Linked DNA regions of Homo sapiens: region 1 is linked to region 2. Evidence: promoter capture Hi-C in human tissues and cell types (Jung and others, 2019). All regions are on one chromosome and are shown on one strand. The core of a region is centred on a gene start or on the middle of the fragment in contact, and the rest is flanking DNA. Distances in the headings are between cores, read along the strand shown.

Region 1 (5,941 bases), core at 541-3,040, 100 kb before region 2:
TATTGCGGCACTATTCACAATAGCAAAGACCTGGAACCAACCCAAATGTCCATAAATGATAGACTGGATTAAGAAAATGTGGCACATATACACCATGGAATATTATGCAGCCATAAAAAAGGATGAGTTCATGTCCTTTGTAGGGACATGGATGAAGCTGGAAACCATCATTCTCAGCATACTATTGCAAGGACAAAAAACCAAACACCACATGTTCTCACTCATAGGTGGGAGTTGAACAATGAGAACACATGGACACAGGAAGGGGAACATCGCACACCGGGGACTGTTGTGGGGTGCGGGGAGCAGGGAGGGATAGCATTAGGAGATATTCCTAATGTTAAATGACGAGTTGATGGGTGCAGCACACCAACATGCGCATGTATACATATGTAACTAACCTGCACGTTGTGCACATGTACCCTAAAAGTTAAAGTATAGTAAAAAAAAAAAAAGTTTTGAAAAAGTTGGTTTCAGCCCTAATGGATGACATGAAGGCATTCAAGACTTCAATGGAGAAAGTAACTGCAGAGTGGTGGAAATAGCAAGAGGACCAGAATTAGAAGTGGAGCCTGAATATGTGTCAGAATTGCTTCAATCTCATGATAAAACTTGAATGAATGAAGAGTTGCTTTCTTGCTATGAGCAAAGAAAGTAGTTTCTTGAGATGGAATTTTTCCTGGTGAAGATGCTGTGAATATTGTTGAAATGACAACAAAGGATTTAGAATATTCCATAAAATTAGCTGATAAAGCAGAAACAGGGTTTCAGAAGATAGATTCCAAATTTGAAAGAAGTTCTATTGTGGGTAAAATGCTATCAAACAGTGTCACATGCAACAGAGAAACCTTTCCTGAAAGGTTAAGTCAATTGATGTGTCAAATTTTATTGATGCCTTATGATAAGAAATTGCCACAGCCATCCCAATATTCAGCAACAACCACTACCCCGATCAGTGAGCAGCCATCAACATCAAGACAAGACGCTCTGGGCAACCCTTCTGGGTTCCCATCCACTGCATGGAAGCTTTACTTTCATTTTTACTTTACTTTTGCCTTTGCTTTAATAAATCTTGCAGCTGTACACTTTTTGGGTCTGTGCATTTCTCTACTCGAGCTGTAACACTTGCCACTGTGGCCCACAGCTTCATTCCTTGAAGCCCATGAGACCACGAACCTCTTGATCGAGAAAAACCTTTGATGGAAGAAGACTTCTCGTCTCCTTTCTGGGAGCCCATCTGGGATTTCTCCAAAGTGGTGAGTAACATTGGACCCCTTTCTCTTGCTATTCTTTCTATCTTCTCACTAGAAATTGGAGGAAAACACAGGGCGCCTGTCAGCCATTTAAAAGCAACAAGTGTGGCTGCCAGACTTAAGACGGGTTTGAGGGTTTCTGGGAAAGGGCTCTCTAACAACCCCCAGCCCTCTGGTCTGGGAGCATTGGTTTGCCTGGAACCAGTTCCACCTTTCTCTACCTTTCCTGGGAAAAGCTGAGGGCTGGCTAGAGGTGGAAAACTGTCATCCTGAACTCTTGGCACTGACCTGGTCGAGATCATGGCACAGCAAGAAGCTTCTACTCCACAGCCACCCATGTGTGCATTCCCTGCCTATTCTGACCCACGCCTCCTGGGTCCTAACGTCCTCAGAGAAGACTTTCTTCAGGCCCTATCCTCTAGGATCTTTCCTACCTCTGAGTCTAAGAATATTTTGGCTAGGAGCCTAAGTCGAGTGGGGTGACAATCCAAAGACCCTTGCCCATGGTGCCCCCAGGCTTATTCTTATGCAAATTGGTATCAATATACTTATACAGGACCTGTCCCTCATAACCTATACCCTAGGCACTACGTGGGACATCAAAAGGCATGTCAGTGGCTGATAGAAGGCCTAGGACATTTTTCCTTTTGTTGCCATAAACTTACTCCAGATTGCAGAGGCTACTTTAATTACCACCTTTCCTGTCTGGGATCAGCAATCAGAACTGTAGAACTTCTCCACTTTAAGCAGTCAGACTTATGTGCCAAAAACAATATAATAGACAATAGCTCCCCCGATTCAAGTCCAAAGGTCAATGAATATTCTCAGGAGGGCAAATAGGGGACAGAAAATTTGGGTACGAAAAGCACTGTTCCAACCTTGGTCCTCCAATTTGCCGCTGCCTACCCTAAAAAAAACTTCAGAAGTCTGACTCGTGTGCTGAGAAAAATTTGGAAACTCTATTGAATTTGGCAGCTTTGGTGTTTTATAATAGGGATCAGGAGAAGCAGGTTGAACGAGATAGACGAGACAAGAGAAAGGCCATTGCCTTAGTCACGGCCCTCAGGCAGATGAACTTTGGTGACTCTGAAAGAAAGAAGGGCTGGGCAGGCAACCCACCTAACAGGACTTGATATCAGTGCGGCTCACAGGGGTACTTCAAAAAGGACTGCCCAAACAACAATAAGTCGCACCCTCATCCATGTCGCTTGTGCCAGGGGGAATCACTGGAATGCACACTGCCCCCAAGGGTGAAGGTCCTCTGAGCCAGAGGCCACTAACCAGATGGGCCAACAACAGGACTGAGGGTGCCTGGGGCAGGTGCCAGCCCATGCCATCACCCTCACAGAGCCTCGGGTAAGCTTAACCATTGAAGGTCAGGAAACTAACTTCCTCCTGGACACTGGTGAGGCCTTCTCAGTTTTACTCTTCTGTCCTGGACAACTGTCCTCCAGATCTGTCACCATCAAAGGGGTCCTAGGACAGCCAGTCACTAGGTATTTCTCCCACCCCCTAAGTTGTGACTGGGGAACCTTATTTTTCTCACATGCCTTTCTTATTATGCCTGAGAGCCCTACTTCCTTACTAGGGAGGGACATATTAGCTAAAGCAGGGGTCATTATATACTTAAATATAGGAGAAGGAATACCTGTTTGTGCCCTCTACTCCATGAGGAAGTTAATCCTGAAGTCTGAGCAGAGGAAGGACAATACGGACTAGCAAAAAAATGCTTATCCAGTTCAAGTTAAATTAAAAGATCCTACCTCCTTTCCTTATCAAAGGCAGTACCCCCTCAGACCAGAAGCCCAACAAGGGTTACAAAAGATCGTCAAAGACCTAAAAGCACAGGGACTAGTCACTCACTCCTGCTTGCTAAATTTATTTAATGTCACCCTTACCGAAATTCACAAGGCCTCCAGCCAGAATCCAACTGACTGCTGGATGTGCCTCCCCTTACGCTTTAAACCATATGTCCCAGTTCCTGTTCCCGAACATTGGAATGCCACCAAACTAAGAACAAACACCACAGGCTTGGTGGGCCCTTTAGTCTCAAATCTAGAAATAACACATACACCAAATCTCACGTGTGTAAAGTTTAGCACAACCATTGATGCAGCTGCCTTCCAGTGCAAAACATGAATTACCCTACCTCCACGACTCTCTTGCTTACCATCAGGAATCTTTTTTTTTGTGGTTCCTCAGCTTACCGCTGCTTAAACGGTTTCTTCAAAAGTCTATGCTTTCTCTCCTTTTTGGAGCCCCCTATGACTATCTATACTGATCAGGAGTTACAGAATTTTCTTCTACCCAAATCTTCTACAAATGGGCACAAGTTCTGCCATTCATTATCAGGGCTGGGATACTAGGAGGACTAGGAACCAGCATTGGAGGCATTACCACCTCCCCCCCAGTTCTATTACAAATTATCACAAGAGTTAAATGATGATATGGAATGAGTCGCAGATTTGCTGGTCACCTTACAAAGCCAGCTTAACTCTTTAGCAGCAGTAACCCTTCAAAATCGGAGAGCATTAGATTTATTAACAGCCGAAAGAAGTGGAACTTATCTTTTTCTAGGAGAAAATGCTGCTATTTCGTTAATCAATTCGAAATTGTCACTGGGAAAGTTAAGGAGCTTTGAGACCGGATACAGCGCTGGGCACAAGAGCTCCAAGACACAGGATCTTGGAGTATTGTCAACCAATGGATGTCCTGGCTTCTCCCCTTCTTGGGACCCTTGGTGGCTATTGCGATGTTGCTTATCTTTGGACCCTGCATTTTTAACCTTCCTGTAAAAATTGTCTCTTCCAGAATAGAATCCATAAAACTGCAAATGGTTCTATAAATGGAGCCCCAAATAGCCACCACTAGCATCTACTATCGAGGACCCTTAGACCGACCTGCCAACCTGTTCTCGCACCACAAAACTGAAGACTCCCTTCCCGAGGAAACCTCAACTACAGAGCCCCTTCTACGCCCCAGCAGGAAATAGCTAGAACGATCTTTGCCCAACTTCCCAACAGCACTTGGCCTTTCCTGTTGAGAGAGGGGATGAGGGACTAAGTGGCTAAGTTGGCCAAAATGAGTCATAGCTGCAAGCTAAGGGATTGAAACTTCAACCAATGAAAGGGGACTTTCCCCTAAGCCAAAGTAAGGCATAGCTGCAAGCTAAGGGATTGAAACTTCAACCAATCAAAGGGGACTTTCCCCTAAGCCAAAATGAGTCACAGCTGCAAACTAAGGGATTGAAACTCCAACCAATCATATAGGGAGTTTATGCTCTAGCTGCAGCCTAATGTTTTTAACCAATCAGGCCTGCCAACACTAGCAGATAGAAAATAAGCTAATCCTATAGGACAGAAAAAGGAAAAGGGGAGGAGTCATAAGGGGATATAAGCATAAACATAACACACCCAAGCCAGAAATGGCAACCCCTTCTGGGTACCCTTCCACTGGGTGGAAGCTTTCCTTTCGCTTTCACTTTAATAAATCTTGCCGCCACACACACCCCCACACAAAAGACCCTCCACCAAGAAAAAGATTACAACTCACTGAATAGTCAGATGATTGTTAGCATTATTTAGCAATACAGTGTTTTAAGTTGTGCACATTTTTAAAAACATAATGCTATTGCATACTTAATAGACTACAGCATAGTATAAACATAACTTTTATACGTACTGGGAAACCAAAAAAAAAATTGTGTGACTTATTTTATTGTGATATGTTCTGTATCGTGTCGGTCTGCAATCAAACCCACAATATCTCAAGGTATGTCTGTATTTTTCTCTCTAAGTTCTGATATTCTGATAGCCTTTGGGTTTGTGTTGGTTATTTTGTTGTTATTGTTGTTAGTCTCCAGACCATAAGTGAAAATATATTGTGTAAAGGTACATTGTATCCTCAACTTTACAATTGTTTTAGGTGTTTTTTTTTTTAAGATTTTATCCTTTAATGTACATATAACCTGAATTATTAACATTTTAAAATGCAAGACTACTTCTAGAAGCTTCTTATAGCACTTTAAATAGTTTTCTGTTGATTAACATAGAGGCCATTAGTTGAGCTCTCTTTGGTGGAAACATTGCTAACACTGCATATTGGCATCAGAATCCACAATTCTTGAATATCTTACCACTGCCCACAATTTGGCACTTGGAGTTGAGTAAAGTAAATTACTTTTTTACAGTTCATGATATTTTAAAATCATTTTCGATGCCTGGGATTTCAAAATTCATATAAAACTAAAGCATATGTCCTTTTAAAATCCTAGCAATCTGTCATTTAATTGACTTGCTTGTGCTTTTTTTAAGCAAATAATAAAAATGTCTAAAATGATTTGAAAGCTCTCTGTAGTATATCACATTCTTTTCTAACATTTAATGGACATGACTGTCTACATATTTTAGGACCTGGTATAATCTTTTAACTTTACTTTTTCTTTGCTTGTGTAATTAAAGGGTGGAGTTGGTACACAATTTAATAGTGTTCCTTTTTTCTCCTCAGAAATAACAAATTGGGTGACTAAACTTTTTAGCATAGTGTACATTGGTCTATAAAATACAACTACAAACCAAATTTTTATGATACTGTATACAAGATGATATGTGTTTTAGATGTAATCTAGATACCATAGCTGACTTGATGACGACATTACAGTTAGCTATCCCAGGCTCAAAATCATGAGT
Region 2 (5,549 bases), core at 656-3,155:
GATTTTTAGCATATTCACAATGTTATGCAATCATCACCACTATCTAATTCCAGAACATTTTCACCACTCAAAAAAGAAAGCTCATACCCATTAAGCAGTCCTTCCTCTTTCCCCTCTGCCCCCAGCCCCTGGCAACCACTAACGTACCTTGTCTGTATGTATTGCCTGCCCTGGGCATGTCATATAAATGGAATCATGCCACACGTGGCCTTTTGTGTCTGGCTTCTTTCCCTTTGCATAGTGTTTTCAAGCTTCGTCTACGCTGAAGCAGGTATTAGTACTTCATTTCTTTTTATGGTTGAATACTATTCCATTGTATGGATATACCACAATTTATTAATTCAGCAATTGATGGATATTTGGATTGTTTCTAATTTTTGGCTATTATGAATAGTGCTGCTATGAATGTTCATGCACAAGTTTTTGATTAAACACCTGTTTTCAATTTTGAGGAGTAAATAGAAGTGGAATTGCTGGCTCATATGGTCATTCTTTTAAACTTTTAAACTTTTTAAGCAATTGCCAAAATTTTTTTCTGAAGTTGCTGCATCATTTTTTATTCCCACCAGCAATGTATGAGTGTTCTAATTTCTCCACATTCTCACTAACGTTTATTTTTTGTTTTTAAAAATGTTCTTATAGCCATCCTAGTGGGTGAAAAGTGGCATCTCAAAAAAATAAAAATAAAAAGCATTCTCACGTCAGGTCTTAAGTTTTCTTCTTTTGTATATGAGGCCACAAAATTGAGAGAAATTTTCCCTAAGATGAGCTGAAAGTGAATTTAATGAAATTCTGAACAACAGAGCTGTTTTTCACTGACTCCCATCACACACTTCCCAAAGAGCAACCATGATCAAAGCCAAGGCATCTAAATAATGACTGTTGAAATCCAAGCTCCCAGAGGTACAGATAGTCAGGTGTCTTTAGTCAGTGATTGGCAGAGGCATCTAAGGCATTATATGAGGCTTGGCTAGTAAAATGCTCTTCTGGGATTCTGGGACAATACCCACTCTCTTTTCTTTTAACTTAATGAACATTTATTTTCTCTCCATATGTGCTGTATTTGTAAAGGAAAAATAAATATAACTAAACACCAATTGTACATTCCACTTTAAAGAAGGCAATTTGTTCAGGTAAAATAATGGGTTAAAACAGTTTCAGCCGTATGAAATTTCAAATTCCATCCTAGCACATTCCTCATTAATAATTGCACACATTCCTATGAAAGTCTGTCATTTATTTTAGTCTTTGATTGCTATCATCAACACACTACAGAAGTTATTCTTTCCTGTTCAAGACAATTAGTTTTGGGAACTAAAACACATGCAGTATATGTAAGTGATTACCTGGATAAAGCAACAGGGCATTAGGAAATATACTTTTTTGTTTTTAATTTCTGCATCCATTTCTTCATTCTGGACCGGTACAGATAGCCTCCATGAGGAGTTTAGCCTCTCCTTGGAGTAAACTCTACTGAGAGGAGGAAAACTGAGACTTACAGTACAGCGGGCACAGCCTGGTTGAGGAGAAGGAGAAACTAAGGAAAAACTGGAGACAGCAAAGCTTGAAGGAGGCAGAGCACTAAGCTGCTGCGGGTCACTCTTCCTGTGAACAGGCTAGTTTCAAATAAAGGCTTGCAGGGATCTTACCGAGCAAAGCAACGTTTATGAAAAGGAACAGGGAAGTTGCATGGAGTGTGATTCTTCCTTCCACAGGAACAGTTGGAAAGCCAAAGAGACCCTAGAGTAAGAATGGTGGTAAGTCCCAGGGTTCGTTTAAAATCCTGATAACGGAACATACATTCTTTCTTACGGGAAAACCGTTTTGATTCTTAAATGAAGTCAGTGAGCTTCAGGCTTGCCTACATTGATATCTCCTAATGGTTTGGGCACGTGACCCAGAGCCAGCTCACAAATCAAGCCTCAGAAAGAGCTGACATCCTAGCTCTTCCCGGAAAAACTCGAATGTCGCCCTGCCGTTCCTGGGGTTGGTGACAGGTCTGGTCATCGCACGGCGGCAGCTCCTCACCTGGATTTAGAAGAGCTGGCGTCCCCGCCCGCCCAAGCCTTTAAACTCTCGTCTGCCAGAACCCGCCAACTCTCCAGGGTACAAAGTACAGCAGGGACGCGGGTGGAGCCCTTCCAAGCGGCGCAGCCTTATCTTTCCCGAGTGAACACCTAGGTGGATTCCCAACACCGCGCCTGGCACGTTTCTGGAGGGAGTCTCAAGCTCCTCCAGAGCTCCCAGCTGCGCGTCCTCGTTTCTGCAGTCGATATTCCTGTGGGAGACACGGGGGGCTCTGAGCGCTACGAGCTTTATTAAGAGATTTGCGAATGGTTCACTCAGGTCCCTGAACACTCCCAATAGCCTAAGCTGCCTGCTGTGTTATAGCGCAGAAGCCCCTAACGCACGGTGGTTGTCCTTTCTTCTCATAACGCTCGCAGCTTAGGGCCAGTTTCCGCGATTCTAAGAGTAATTGCGTGGGCACCTGTGCTGGGGCCAGGCGCAAAGAAGGGAGTTGGTCTGCGCGAAGATCGTCAACCTGCTAACAGACCGCACATGCACTTTGCACCGACCATCTACGTCTCAGTCTGGAGGTTGCGCACTTTGGGTAAGGAGGGCCCGGAACTTCCCTGGCGGGTCTGAGCTGCAAGGCAAGCGAGGGTGGGAAGAGGGAATTTAGGGTTCTGGACTGCGGGACGGGAGAGAAGCTGGGGTCTCCAGAGAAAAGGGCAGCAATGGAGGGAAACTGAGATGAACTCCAGACATCCATGTTCATGGATCCGTTTGAGTCTTTGCTTTGGGTAGGAGAGGAGTGGAATGAGACAGAATCTATACCTTTGGTTCCCACCCGCCCTCCAGTAAGGCCGAGGAACTCTCTTGGTTCCTCTGAGAGCAAGAGGCAGATGGTGCTGCGAGGGAACCCCGGAAGGAGCCACTAAAGTTGAGCAGAGTGCAGGACTGGGAAGGAAAAAAATGGGGGGCGGGGGGGACAAGCCACCTATGTGCTCTCCTCCCTTTCTCCACCCCACCCCCTTTTTTCGTAGCTGCTGACGCGCTGGTGGTGCCTATTAATCATTTACCAGTCCAGAGCCGCGCCAGTTAATGGCTGTGCCGTGCGGTGCTCCCACATCCTGGCCTCTCCTCTCCACGGTCGCCTGTGCCCGGGCACCCCGGAGCTGCAAACTGCAGAGCCCAGGCAACCGCTGGGCTGTGCGCCCCGCCGGCGCCGGTAGGAGCCGCGCTCCCCGCAGCGGTTGCGCTCTACCCGGAGGCGCTGGGCGGCTGTGGGCTGCAGGCAAGCGGTCGGGTGGGGAGGGAGGGCGCAGGCGGCGGGTGCGCGAGGAGAAAGCCCCAGCCCTGGCAGCCCCACTGGCCCCCCTCAGCTGGGATGTTCCCCAATGGCACCGCCTCCTCTCCTTCCTCCTCTCCTAGCCCCAGCCCGGGCAGCTGCGGCGAAGGCGGCGGCAGCAGGGGCCCCGGGGCCGGCGCTGCGGACGGCATGGAGGAGCCAGGGCGAAATGCGTCCCAGAACGGGACCTTGAGCGAGGGCCAGGGCAGCGCCATCCTGATCTCTTTCATCTACTCCGTGGTGTGCCTGGTGGGGCTGTGTGGGAACTCTATGGTCATCTACGTGATCCTGCGCTATGCCAAGATGAAGACGGCCACCAACATCTACATCCTAAATCTGGCCATTGCTGATGAGCTGCTCATGCTCAGCGTGCCCTTCCTAGTCACCTCCACGTTGTTGCGCCACTGGCCCTTCGGTGCGCTGCTCTGCCGCCTCGTGCTCAGCGTGGACGCGGTCAACATGTTCACCAGCATCTACTGTCTGACTGTGCTCAGCGTGGACCGCTACGTGGCCGTGGTGCATCCCATCAAGGCGGCCCGCTACCGCCGGCCCACCGTGGCCAAGGTAGTAAACCTGGGCGTGTGGGTGCTATCGCTGCTCGTCATCCTGCCCATCGTGGTCTTCTCTCGCACCGCGGCCAACAGCGACGGCACGGTGGCTTGCAACATGCTCATGCCAGAGCCCGCTCAACGCTGGCTGGTGGGCTTCGTGTTGTACACATTTCTCATGGGCTTCCTGCTGCCCGTGGGGGCTATCTGCCTGTGCTACGTGCTCATCATTGCTAAGATGCGCATGGTGGCCCTCAAGGCCGGCTGGCAGCAGCGCAAGCGCTCGGAGCGCAAGATCACCTTAATGGTGATGATGGTGGTGATGGTGTTTGTCATCTGCTGGATGCCTTTCTACGTGGTGCAGCTGGTCAACGTGTTTGCTGAGCAGGACGACGCCACGGTGAGTCAGCTGTCGGTCATCCTCGGCTATGCCAACAGCTGCGCCAACCCCATCCTCTATGGCTTTCTCTCAGACAACTTCAAGCGCTCTTTCCAACGCATCCTATGCCTCAGCTGGATGGACAACGCCGCGGAGGAGCCGGTTGACTATTACGCCACCGCGCTCAAGAGCCGTGCCTACAGTGTGGAAGACTTCCAACCTGAGAACCTGGAGTCCGGCGGCGTCTTCCGTAATGGCACCTGCACGTCCCGGATCACGACGCTCTGAGCCCGGGCCACGCAGGGGCTCTGAGCCCGGGCCACGCAGGGGCCCTGAGCCAAAAGAGGGGGAGAATGAGAAGGGAAGGCCGGGTGCGAAAGGGACGGTATCCAGGGCGCCAGGGTGCTGTCGGGATAACGTGGGGCTAGGACACTGACAGCCTTTGATGGAGGAACCCAAGAAAGGCGCGCGACAATGGTAGAAGTGAGAGCTTTGCTTATAAACTGGGAAGGCTTTCAGGCTACCTTTTTCTGGGTCTCCCACTTTCTGTTCCTTCCTCCACTGCGCTTACTCCTCTGACCCTCCTTCTATTTTCCCTACCCTGCAACTTCTATCCTTTCTTCCGCACCGTCCCGCCAGTGCAGATCACGAACTCATTAACAACTCATTCTGATCCTCAGCCCCTCCAGTCGTTATTTCTGTTTGTTTAAGCTGAGCCACGGATACCGCCACGGGTTTCCCTCGGCGTTAGTCCCTAGCCGCGCGGGGCCGCTGTCCAGGTTCTGTCTGGTGCCCCTACTGGAGTCCCGGGAATGACCGCTCTCCCTTTGCGCAGCCCTACCTTAAGGAAAGTTGGACTTGAGAAAGATCTAAGCAGCTGGTCTTTTCTCCTACTCTTGGGTGAAGGTGCATCTTTCCCTGCCCTCCCCTGTCCCCCTCTCGCCGCCCGCCCGCCACCACCACTCTCACTCCACCCAGAGTAGAGCCAGGTGCTTAGTAAAATAGGTCCCGCGCTTCGAACTCCAGGCTTTCTGGAGTTCCCACCCAAGCCCTCCTTTGGAGCAAAGAAGGAGCTGAGAACAAGCCGAATGAGGAGTTTTTATAAGATTGCGGGGTCGGAGTGTGGGCGCGTAATAGGAATCACCCTCCTACTGCGCGTTTTCAAAGACCAAGCGCTGGGCGCTCCCGGGCCGCGCGTCTGCGTTAGGCAGGGCAGGGTAGTGCAGGGCACACCTTCCCCGGGGTTCGGGGTTCGGGGTTCGGTTGCAGG

Evidence for each region. The method cuts DNA at HindIII sites, captures the fragments that hold promoters and counts their contacts. A contact is called where the count stands out against the background at its distance.
Region 1: a contact is called between a fragment that was not itself captured here and the fragment with the promoter of SSTR1 in region 2, in 2 of the 25 tissues and cell types used here (heart right ventricle and small bowel).

The regions. Positions count from the first base shown.
Region 1 is chr14:38,102,992-38,108,932 of GRCh38, forward strand. No RefSeq gene overlaps it. Among named protein-coding and RNA genes, the nearest start is that of SSTR1, 100 kb to the right of the region's middle. The HindIII fragment of the contact is 3,749 bases long and covers 1-3,665 here.
Region 2 is chr14:38,205,999-38,211,547 of GRCh38, forward strand. SSTR1 (somatostatin receptor 1) reads left to right here and starts at 1,906. Exons shown (of 3, transcript NM_001049.3): 1 at 1,906-2,106; 2 at 2,445-2,611; 3 at 3,048-5,549. The coding sequence starts at 3,392. The coding sequence ends at 4,567. LOC124903303 (a long non-coding RNA gene) reads right to left here and starts at 3,289. Exons shown (of 2, transcript XR_007064117.1): 1 at 3,084-3,289; 2 at 1,217-2,278. RefSeq lists enhancers at 1,708-2,369, 3,353-4,056, 4,057-4,759. The HindIII fragment of the contact is 11,122 bases long and covers 908-5,549 here.